2 separate regions of the Homo sapiens genome follow, and region 2 is linked to region 1. The links are contacts of gene promoters, found by promoter capture Hi-C in blood cells and fetal thymus (Javierre and others, 2016). All regions are on one chromosome and are shown on one strand. Each heading gives the region's core, a stretch centred on a gene start or on the middle of the fragment in contact. The rest is flanking DNA. Distances are from core to core; before and after follow the strand shown.

What was found. The method cuts DNA at HindIII sites, captures the fragments that hold promoters and counts their contacts. A CHiCAGO score of 5 or more calls a contact.
Region 2: a contact is called between a fragment that was not itself captured here and the fragment with the promoter of ZNF891 in region 1, in 2 of 17 cell types (M1 macrophages and total CD4 T cells). The highest score is 5.8, in M1 macrophages.

What each region holds. Positions count from the first base shown.
Region 1 is chr12:133,126,235-133,131,874 of GRCh38, reverse strand. It overlaps ZNF891 (zinc finger protein 891), which reads left to right and starts at 1,601. Exons shown (of 2, transcript NM_001277291.2): 1 at 1,601-1,648. ZNF10 (zinc finger protein 10) reads right to left here and starts at 1,248. Exons shown (of 5, transcript NM_015394.5): 1 at 1,121-1,248. RefSeq lists an enhancer at 866-1,145 and silencers at 1,196-1,435, 1,806-1,985. The HindIII fragment of the contact is 7,004 bases long and covers 1-2,213 here.
Region 2 is chr12:133,212,150-133,218,235 of GRCh38, reverse strand. ZNF268 (zinc finger protein 268) reads right to left here. Exons shown (of 6, transcript NM_003415.3): 6 at 3,404-6,086. Among named protein-coding and RNA genes, the nearest start is that of ANHX, 21 kb to the left of the region's middle. The HindIII fragment of the contact is 4,424 bases long and covers 1,983-6,086 here.

The DNA.
Region 1 (5,640 bases), core at 352-2,851:
GTGCTTATATAAAATACTGATAAGCAGAAATTCTCATTTAATTTATGATGTGTATCTCAAATCTCTGCCCTTGTGACTAGCATATACTAAGAGCTAAAGAAATGCATGCTGAGAGAAGTAATCAAAAAACAAATGTAACTTTCAAAAAGAGGCAGGAGCGTGTGCAACTTACCATCCAAGAGGCTTTGGAAGATGGGGGACAATTTTAGTAAAACAGAAGAGATTAGTTATGTCACAAGAGAAAAGTTAGTGTGGAGGTAATTTTCAAAAGGGTAGGGAGGATTTGTGCTATCCAGTTCTCGGAGACCTAACTGCAGTCATTTCTAACCTAATAACACTTGTTGGCTGGCATTCTGGGTGACATCCTGCCTTCCCTTTTACTTTTTTTTTTTTAATTAACAGTATCTTTCTGCAATTAATGTATAGCTGGAATTGAAATTGTTCACCTTCTGCATACACTTTGGGTGGGATCTACGTACGAAATCTTGATGTTAACCTTATCTTTGACACTCATATTATGTGTTAGATGGCGTATATATATCTAGTGTCAAGGGAAAATAAAAATATAGTAATTAAACTTATGATCTGTCTCTGAAAATAAAAAAAATAGATTAACCACACAAACACGCCTTCAGTTAATCTATCTGATTAAAAAACAAAACAAAGATGAGGAAGCTAAGAGCTAGAGATGCAGGATTTGTTTTTAAAAGACCACACACGAATCGGCGTCACTATTTCAACAAATACTAGAAAGGCCATATGCAAAATTTTAAACATCTATCCCAGCTGGGGGGAAAAATGGAAGTTAGACTAGAAGAAACCTTATTTTGTATTACTGAAAATATCTGGTTCAAACTTACCACCACCGCCGCCCACTCTGCGTCAATCTCCAGGTGCAGCCGTTATTCTCCACAGAACAAGAACGTCCGCCGTGAACGCCGGGGCCGCGCGAGGGACAGAAAGTGACTGAGGCAAGGGGTGACGATCACCGTTAAATTTTTTCATTGACGAAATTACCGTCTACCTAGAAATACGAAGCTAATACACTGCTACATTACTAAAGGGCTCAACACGCGCCTGATGACGATGCAAACACAAAATTCAGCACTTTCGTATATACCTGCAATAAGCAACTAGAAGGTTCGATGGGAGAAAGCGATCCCGTCACAAAGGCAGCAGCAACAGCAAAACAGAGAACGCGACTCCATTCACCAGCGGAGCGCGAAGAGCGGCGTCAGAGGTGAGTCTGAGGCCGGCTCGGCACGGCGGCGCCACCTCCCCGTGGCCTGACGTCACGCACGCGCACGCGCCCCGCCCCCATTGGTCCTACGCCCGCCCCTGCTGCGAACGCACGCACACGCACCCACAACACACACCGTTACGCACGCGCCCCAGCCTGGCGTTCAGGCCACGCTCCGCCCCCAGCCCGTCAGCCGCGCGCCCCGGGACCCTAGAGCCGGCGATTCGTCGCCGGCGCCGCAGCCGCCACTCTGTGCCGGACCCTGCGGGCCTTCGGCCCAGAGCGCGTCCGTGACGCACAGACCAGGCCCCTCTGCGGGGCGGCGCAGGAGCTCCTGGGAAACGTAGTTCGGCCTCGCGTCCCCCTCGGGCGGGACCGCGGACGCCTGGAGGCAGGCACTGAGGACGGGTGAGCATGCGGGCCTGTGGCTCGTTCACCCGGGACAAGTCCCTCGTGGGATCAGCCTGGCCCGCTGAGTTCTCCTGCGTGCAGGGATCGCCTCACGGGAGTCTGAGCAGCAGGGAGCCTGCCCGGGAGGCGGCGGTGGGAGAGGCCCTTGAGGGAGGAGGGGCTACTTACCGGGTGCGAGTGGAGCGCGGGGAGCGAGTGGGGACCAGGGGCGCGCGGGGCGGAGGGGTCCCGGGCTGGCTGCGGGTGCCACGCAGGGAGCGCTGGGGGGCCGGGGATGCGCGTTTGCCTCCTTCTCTAAGCAACACGGGAGGGCTAAAGGGTGCACGCCTCTGTCCAGCAGCCTCTCTTGAATCTCTAAACCTAGTAATGAGTTGAATCACAGCCATCGTTTTTTTCACCTATTGCCTTATACTGTGGTTGAATGCGATATGGTTTTATTTCTTTAATACTCTGGTGTATTCAATTGGCTGTTTCCCTTTGACTTCACCTATGCTCACAAGATTGTGTTTTAATCTTTTTGTGTACTATCCTTGCCCGTTATACTAACAAGATTTTACAAGCTTCATGAATAATTTGGACAGCACAGTCTCTCTTCTATTCTGTAAAACAGGTCACCACCCCTCACCGCCCCCCGCCCGCCTCCAAAAGTTTGGTGCTATTTGGTCTTAAAATATTTAGTACGCATTTAACTTCTGACTCAATTTTTTTTTTTTTTTTTTTTGAGACAGAGTTTCGCTCTTTGTTGCCCAGGCTGGAGTGCAATGGCGCCATCTTGGCTCACAGCAACCTCCGCCTCCCGGGTTCAAGTGATTCTTCTGCCTCAGTCTTGTGAGTTGCCGGGATTACAGACATGAGCCACCACGCCCAGCTAATTCTGTATTTTTAGTGGAGATGGGGTTTCTCCATGTTGGTCAGGCTGGTCTGGAACTCCCGACCTCAGGTGATCAGCCTGCCTCGGCCTCCCAAAGCGCTGAGATTACAAGCGTGAGCCACCGCACCCGGCCCTGACTCAATTTTTTAAAAAGTCTCATTGATTAGGTTTTTTAGTTCGTATTCTGTTTTAGATACCTTTCCTAGATAATTGTTTTTAATCTAATTTTTCAAATTTATTGGCATAAAATTGCCCATGCTATTTTATCACTGTAAGTAATTTCTATGGTGATTTTTAAAATCACCACTTTTTAATATTTTACTGCTGTAATTGTTATTTTTTTCTTTTTTGAACCTAATTATCTAGGCCTTTTTTTCTTGATTACTCCTATAAGGTATATGTGTACATAGTCTTTTCAAAAATGTAGATTTGGTTTTGGTTTTTTTGTTGTTTTGTTTTGGTCTTTTTTGGGGAGGGGGGTCCTATTACAGTAAGTTTTGCTCTTAATTTTTAAATTTTTCTTTTACTTTGTCTCTGTTTTTCTACTTTTTTTTTTTTTTCGAGACAGAGTTTCACTCTGTCTCCAGGCTGGAGTGCAGTGGCGTGATCTCGGCTCACTGTAGCCTCTACCACCCGGATTCAAGCGATTCTCCTGCCTCAGGCCCCACCACGCCCGGCTAATCCAGCTAATTTTTGTTTTTGTTTGTTTGTTTGTTTTTGAGACAGAGTCTCTCTCTCTCGCCCAGGCGGGAATGCAATGGCAGGATCTCTGCTCACTGCAACTTCCACATCCCGGGTTCAAGCCATTCTCCTGCCTCAGCCTCTGGAATAGCTGGGATCACAGGCGCACACTGCCATGCCCGGTTAATTTTTTGTATTTTTTAGTAGAGACGGGGTTTCACGGTGTTGCCCAGGCTGGTCTCGAACTCTTCAGCTCAGGCAATCCGCCCGCCTTGGCCTCCCAAAGTGCTAGGATTACAGGCGTGAGCCACCGTGCCTGGCCATCTGCTTCTTGATTTGACTGGGTAATTAATTTACTACTCTTTATTTGTGCTCCAAGAAATGTGTGTGTACATTTTTAAGAGCTGAATATGTTAAAAGACTCATAATAAAAACAGGAAACACCTTAACCCCATCTCTTCCCAGTGGCAACCACTTGGAAATATTTAAGCAGTTCTGGCTTCGAACTCCTCTCAGTATTTTTTTATTCACCGATTTGTGACATTATTTTAAAATTTTTATCATGTTAAATAAGAACTTTGGCTGCCTTCTTTCTACATCCTTAAATCACAATGTAATTATTTTACAAATATTATAATGTAGTTCTCCCACAAATTTTGGATAAATATGTTCAGTGTTTTCATTTGATGACTACTCTTTAGTACTGAGCCATAATATGTTTCTTTCTTGTGCAAGGTTTACCTTTCTTGTTTTTAATGACTGCCTTTTTTATTCATTTGCTTAGTTTTTCTTAAATCTATGTAAAATGTCTTTTGGTTCCATTTTCCTCAAGGGCTAATCTGTCATACAGTCTTATCACTTTTCTCCTTTCCTGGACATCCCCCTGCAATGTAGATTGATCAGTTACTCTGTAGGCATGCAGCACGCTGGCATACCACTGGGCTTCCCTTTTGCCCTCATCAATTTCCTCATCTCACCTCTGTGTTAAATCTCCTGTTTCCTGTAAAGCACTTCTATTCCTGTTTGGTGGATTGTAATCTTAACTGCCTTGAAGAAAGGGTCCATATGATCTACATATATTAAAGTTGTAGAAATGATTAGAAATTACTTTTTCCTCACATTTGTGTGGTGTTTTCACCGAGTATACACATCTCAATAGGAAATTACTTTCCATTAGAATTTTGAAAGCCAGTGAAGCTAGATAGGAAATGGAGCAGTGTTACTGTTACTGTTGAGAAGTCCTATTTCATACCTTGTTCTTTTATGTGTAATCTGTTTATCATCTCTTGGAGCTCTTTGGTATTCAAAAATTTCATGATGATGTGTGTTCTAATTATTTAAAGAAATTACTTGCTTTGATGGATCAGTTCTTAGATACTGTGTTTTTTTAAGGAATAAGAAGTTTCTGGCCGGGCACCGTGGCTCACGCCTGTAATCCCAACATTTTGGGAGGCCGAGGTGGGTGGATCATGAGGTCAGGAGTTCAAGACCAGGCTGGCCAAGATGGTGAAACCCCATCTCTACTACTAAAAATAAGAAAATTAGCCGGGCGTGGTGGCCGGCGCCTGTAATCCCAGCTACTTCGGAGGCTGAGGCAGAGAATTGCTTAAACCCGGGAGGCAGAGGTTTCAGTGAGCCGAGATTGTGCCACTGCACTCCAGCTTGGGCGACTCCGTCTCAAAAAAAAAAAAAAAAAAAAAAAGTTTTCCTGTACTTGTTTGTTTCTTCCTCTTGTTTTTTCTTTCTGGAACTCTGAGTAATCTGGGGTACCTTAAATTGCTCATATAGTGGTCTTTTTTTATTTATTCTTACTTTTTCTTTTAGATCAGCTTTACTTATTTATTCATTTATTTATTGAAACAGAGTCTCACTGTGTTGCCCAGGCTGGAGTGCAGTGGCACATCTCGGCTCACTGCAGCCTCCACCTCTTGGGTTCAAGCATTTCTCCTGCTTCAGCCTCCCGAGTAGCTGGGATTACAGGTGTGCACCAACACATCTAGCTTTTTTTTTTTTTTGTATTTTTATTTGAGACGGGGTTTCACTGTGTTGGCCAGGCTGGTCTTAGAATTCTGACCTGAAGTGATTCGCCTACCTCGGCTCCCAAAGTGCTGGATTACAGGCGTAAGCCACTGTGTTCAGCCAAGATCAGCTTTCTAGAAAAGTTCCTTAAGTTTATCTTTTTTTTTTTTTTTTTTTTTGAGACGGAGTCTCGCTTTGTTGCCCAGGCTGGAGTGCAGTGGTACGACCTCGGCTCACTGCAAGCTCCACCTTCCAGGTTCATGCCATTCTCCTGCCTCACACTCCCGTGTAGCTGGGACTACAGGCACCCACCACCACGCCCGGCTAATTTTTTATATTTTTAGTAGAGATGGGGTTTCACAGTAGCCAGGATGGTCTCGATCTCCTGACCTCATGATCCACCCGCCTCAGTACTGGG
Region 2 (6,086 bases), core at 2,945-5,444, 84 kb before region 1:
CCGGGGCCAGTGTTTCATGATGTGGGTGTACATTAATCATGCAGCAGTGCCCGACAGATGGACATCTGGACAGTTTCCAGTGTGTCTGTTTTATATGCAGCATTAGCGTGGGCAACCCTGCCCTCTGCCCTTTGCCCTTCACCTGGCTATTATTAGGATAAATTCCTGGAAGCTGAATTTCTGGGTCGATTATGGTAGCCCTAGGTGTGGACTGTGGATTTTGGAGTGTCTGTGACCTTGTGCTCACCTGGCCACGTGCCCATCTCAGGGGAGAGCCACATGTGGTCTGGGCTGAGATCAGTAGCCCTTAACCCAGAGAAGTCAGACTCTGGCCCTGCTCTCAGGAGCTCCCAAGCTGCTCTGTGAGAGGCAAAGGCACAAATACCAACCTTCCTGTGGGGTCATGGGTGGAACAGAAGGAGGAGCCATAGCTGGGAGATCTGACGGTGGGGGTCGGGAGAACAGGAGAATCTTGACGGAGGTTGCAGAAGAGCATTGTGATAGGGAGGGAATGGGGTAGTGTGGCAAAGAGAACAGGAGCCTTGGTGTCTGGCAACCATTGCATTGCTCACCTGTGGCCCCATGCATCCCTGGCAATCCCCAGGCCTGGAGGAGAAGCAGGAGGGCACTGGGACCAGCTTCCCAGCAACCCTGAGCTTGAAGGATGTGCTGCCAACAGGGTGGTGTGGAGTGGAGGGCACAGCTGCTTGCCTCCCTGTCGCAGGAGAACCAGCCCCCATGTTCCCCACATGCCGGCTCCCCCAGACTCAGGGCAGAAGCAGCAGCAGTGACTACTGTGCTTTGGGCTGCTATGGGAGGCACCACCCTTTGGCCCTCCCAGGAAACACGCAGAGCCTGGGCCCATCCCATCCCTGGGCTGAGGCCTTTCCTGCAACCAGCAGGGCCCAGAGACCCAGCAAAGAGGCACTGGGTGCTAGCTGGTCACAGTCAGAGGCCCAGGCTGCACAAGGATCTCCATGGCATGTTGTTCCCTCTTGTCCTCAGCAGGGCTCAGTCCTGAACATTCTAGAGTCCTGACTCAGACAGCTGTATCATGTCCATTCTAGAGAAAATGGACCAAAGTCTCTGGAGCTGGCCCTTGGCTAGGACTGGACCTCCCAAAAGGGGATCTCTACCAGTGGTTGATGGTCCTGCCAGGATGGAGGCTGGAGGCTCCTCACTTTCTCTGTTCAGCACCTATGAGGAGGAACTGCTGCCCACAGGCCCTTCCTTCCCCTGTCTCCTTTCTGGCTTTATCCCTGGCCTCTCTGACAATGGGATGTGGCCCCACAGCCTGTTCTGCCCTCATCCCATTAAAGGACCAGCCTGAGTCCAGTGGACACAGGTAAGGCACCATGACCAAGTGGTGTGACCCCTTTCTGTGCCTTCCTGAGGCACCTGTCTAGAGAATGAAGGGACATAATGGCTGTTCCAGTGGATTGATGGCTGGGAGGAGGGGCCAAGAGAGGTATGAGGGGTGGGGTTTGGCCAGCCCTGGGCTTTCTGGACTCCAGGGACAGCGAGGTGGGGGCTCAGGGCAGCTCCAGTGACAGCAAGGTAGAAGCTCAGGACAGCCCCAGGGACAGGGGTGGAGGCTCAGGTGCAGCCCCAGGGACAGCAAGGTAGAGCCTAAAACAGCACCAGGAGACTGAGAACTGAGACCAGGACTTCCAGACAGAGTGGAAATGACCACCCAATAGCAGTGGTGGCCCATGAAGAGCCCTACTTCCCTGACTCACCCTCTCGGGTGGGCTTGGGAGGCAGCTGTGGTCTGGAGAGAGTGGTGGATGGAGCATGCCTGTGTTCCTTTCCTAGGGCTGCTGTAACAAAGCACCACAAACTGAGAGGCTTAGAGCAACGATTTGTTGTCTCCGAGTTGGGAAATCCAGGAGACTGAGTCATGCTCTTTCTGAAGAGTGGAAAGGATTGCCCCCAGGCCTCTCCCCAGTTCTACTTGTTTCTTGGCTTGTGACATTGAAGCTTCAGTCTTCAGTAGCCTTCCTCCCTGTATGCATGTCTGTGTCCAAATTCCCCCTTTTTATAAGGACACAATCATAGTGGATTAAGGCTGGCTTTAATTACTTCATCTCACATTTATCATCTGCAAAGACCCTATTTCCATATAAGGCCGCATTCACAGCTACTGGGGGTCAGTACTTGAACATATGAATTTGGGGGATATAATTCAACCCCAGCAGTGTCTCTGTCTCTGCTGGTGATCACCATATCCCTGCTGGTGCCAAGTAATCATGGCCCCTCCCAGGGTGCCCCATCCTTGTACCTGGTGCTCCAGGCAGTTCACAGGAGGGCCTAACTGCTGGGTTTGGGGCTGGCATTGGGATCCCTTGCCCAGTAAGGGCTGGATCCAGACTGTTCTGGGGTTGAGGTGCTGGTGTTTTGAAGGCAGGAAAAACCAGAGGCTGGTCCTTCTCTGGACGGTGAACCACAGCAAGGGACCTCTCATGGGGGCTCCCATACCTCCTGTGACCTGGGCAGAAAGTCGTACAGTCCCAGGCCTCCAAAGGCAAAAGCCCCTTCTGACTCAGATAACATCCCTCCCACTCTGCTTGCCTGCAGAGCCCCGGAGGTTTCTGGGGAGCTTCAGTGGAGCTGAATCATCAGGGTTGAGGCAGGCCCTAGCATTGATCGTTAGCAACCAGAGAGTGGAAGCGGTGTAGATGGCAGCGAGTTGCAGGTGGCCTCAGTTCTAACTAAATATTACAATACTAGCATGATTCCACTTCCTGGAGCTGGCCTCTGGGGAGCCCCAGGCTGGTGTATTTATGATAGGGTCTGTGTGGCTCATGAGGCTTCACGTGGGACTTGGGCCATCTCATGACCAGACAAGTGCCCCCACAGCTGGGTTACCTCTGCTGTGTGGCCTGGACACAGGTTCATGTGACTCACAAACTTTGAGTGGCACCTGGAAACGAGGTTCTGGGCTGGAACCTGAGTGTGAACCTCACTTGGAGGCTGTGTGATTGCAGGTGAATCATTCAATCACCTGAGCCTGGCCCTCCCCTCTGCACAAGGAACTAGCCATACCTAGCAGATAGCTGTGAGTCACCTGAGCAAGATAGCTGCATGGTGATGGTCAGAAAACACTGATTTCTCCTTATTGAAATGGGACAACCCTTGGATACCACGTGCCGAGCTATGAATTCCAGCAATGCAAGTTTCAAAAGACCCTGTGTGCCCTAAGGAGGCACTGCTGATCACTTAGTGTCTGTGAAGGCATCAGAAGGTGACCTGGACCTGGAATGATGAAACAGCCATGGGTTTAGGAGCTGGCAGATGGTGTGGCTGGAGCACATGTCTGGAATGTGGTTGGCCAGGCCCAGGCAGCACTGGGCTATGGAGGGACTTAAATGTGAGGCTAAGAGGGCTGACCCTGGTGAGGGAATGCTGTGGACTAGATTTTTTTATTGAGGTAAAATTTACACAATATAAAATTAACTTTTAAAAATGTACATTTCTGTGACATTTAGTCCATGCACAACATTGTGCAGCCACCACCTCTTAGTTCCAAAATAGTTTCATCACCCCAAAGGAAATCCTCCATCCATTAAGCAGCTGTCACACATTTCATCCTCCCTCCGACCCTTGACAACCACCAATATGCTCTCTTTGGATTTACCCATTCTGGGTATTTCATATAAGTGGTATCATACAGTATGTGACCTTTTTGTGGCCAGCCTCTTTCTGCACATTGCTTTTATTTTTATCTTTGTAGACATGGAGTCTTGCTATGCTGCCCAGACTGGACTTGAACTCCCAGGCTCAAGCGACCCTCCCACCTCAGCCTCCCGAGTAGCTGGGATTACAGGTGTGTGGCCTTGTGCTGGGTTCTCAGCACAATGTTTCTGAGGTTCCTCCACGTTGTAGCAAGGGTCAGTCATAGCAGCTTTACCATTTTACAGCGGTGTTCACATTTCTCCACTTCTTTGTCAATACTTGTTTCTGGTTTGTTTTTAAAATAATAAGACATTCTGATGGGTATGGAGTGTTATCTCATTGTATTTTTGATTTATATTTCCATGATGGCTAGTGATGTTGAGTATCGTTTCATATGCTATTTGCATATCTTCTTTACAGAAAAGTCTCTTCAAGTCCTCTGCCCATTTTGATATTGGGTTGTCTTTTTGTTGTTGGGTTGTAAGAGTTCTTTATATGTTCTGGATACTAGACCCTTATCAGGTATATTATTTTACAGTGTCTTTTCTCCTATATTCACCTTTTTTTTTTTTGAGACGGAGTCTCGCTCTGTCGCCCAGGCTGGAGTGCAGTGGTGAGATCTGGGCTCACTGGTTCCAGGTTCACGCCATTCTCCTTCCTCAGCCTCCCAAGTAGCTGGGACTACAGGCTTCCACTACCAGCCTGGCTAATTTTTTGTATTTTTTTGTAGAGACAGGGTTTCACCACATTAGCCAGGATGGTTTCGATCTCCTGACCTCGTGATCCACCTGCCTCAGCCTCCCAAAGTGCTAGGATTACAGGCGTGAGCCACCACACCCGGCCTTTTTTTTTTTTTTGAGATGGAATTTTGCTTTCTTGCTCTGTCACCTGGGCTGGAGTGCAGTAGCATGATCTCGGCTCACTGCAACCTCCACCTCACAGCTTCAAGCGATCCTCCTGCCTCAGCTTCCTGAGTTGCTGGGATTACAGGCACATGCCACCACACCCGGCTTTTTTTTTTCTCTTTTTTTTTATTTTTAGTAGAGACGTGGTTTCACCAAGTTAACCAGGCTGGTCTCGCACTCCTGACCTCAAGTGATCCTCCCACCTTGGCCTCCCAAAGTGCTGGAATTACAGGCGTGAGCCACCACACCCAGCTCCTTTTCACTTTCTTGATAGTGTCCACTGATGCCGAAAGTTTTCAATTTTGGTGAAGTCCAATTTACCTATTTTTTCTTTTGTTTCCCATGCTTCTGGTGTCATATCCAATAAATCATTGCCAAATCCAGTGCCAAGAAGTACATGAAAAGATTTTCAACATCACTAGCCATTAGGTAAAGGAAAATCAAAACCACAATGAGATACCATTTCATACATGTTAGAGTGGCTATTATAAAAAATATGGAGGCCAAGTGCAGTGGTTCAAGCCTGTAATCCCAGCACTTTGGGAGGCCAAGGTAAGTGGATCACTTGAGGACAGGAGTTTGAGACTAGCCTGGCCTGGCCAACATGGTGAAACCCTGTCTCTACTAAAAATACAAAAAATAGCCATACATGGTGGCACATGCCTGTAATCCCAGCTACTCAGGAGGCCGAGGAAGGAGAATCACTTAAACCTAGGAGGCGGAGGTTGCAGTGAGCTGAAATGGTGCCACTGCACTCCAGCCTGGGTGACAGAGTGAAACTCCATTTCAAAAAAACCAAAAAACTATTTGGGTGTAGTGGCACCTGTAGTTCCAGCTACCCAGGAGGCTGAGGTGGAAGGATCCCTTGAGCCCAGGAGGTTGGGGCTGCAGTGAGTTATGATCATGCCTATGAAATGAGAGAGAAACAAACTAATTAATATTGGCAAGTATGTGGAGAAATTGGAAGCCTTGTGCACTGCTGGTGGAATGTAAAATGATAGTTGCACAATAATGGAAATAATGTACTTCATGCCACTGAAGTGTACACTTAAAAATAGTTAAAATGGTAAATGTTCTTATTATATATATGTGTATATATATGTGTATATGTGTATATATATGTGTATATATGTGTGTATGTGTGTGTGTATATATACATATATATATATATATATATATATATATATATATATATATATATATATATATAAAATCACACATGAAAGTCTCCCTTGGAACTGATCCTGAAATAATTTCATGTGTGATGAAAGAACACCCTGCTCTCCTGGAGTGATAAGTGGCCTTTTTGTTCATGCTGGCATTATACATCCCAGGCTCTTCCACACACACCCAGCATAATTTCACCAAGCAGAGGGAGTACACTCTCCAAAGGCCCATTTGTGCCTGTTTCTATCATTATATCCTCCTATTTAACTCACTCCCTGCCCTCTACAAACCGTCATCAATCACAGATATGTTTGCTACCCCTGTAGTTTCTGCTTTTCC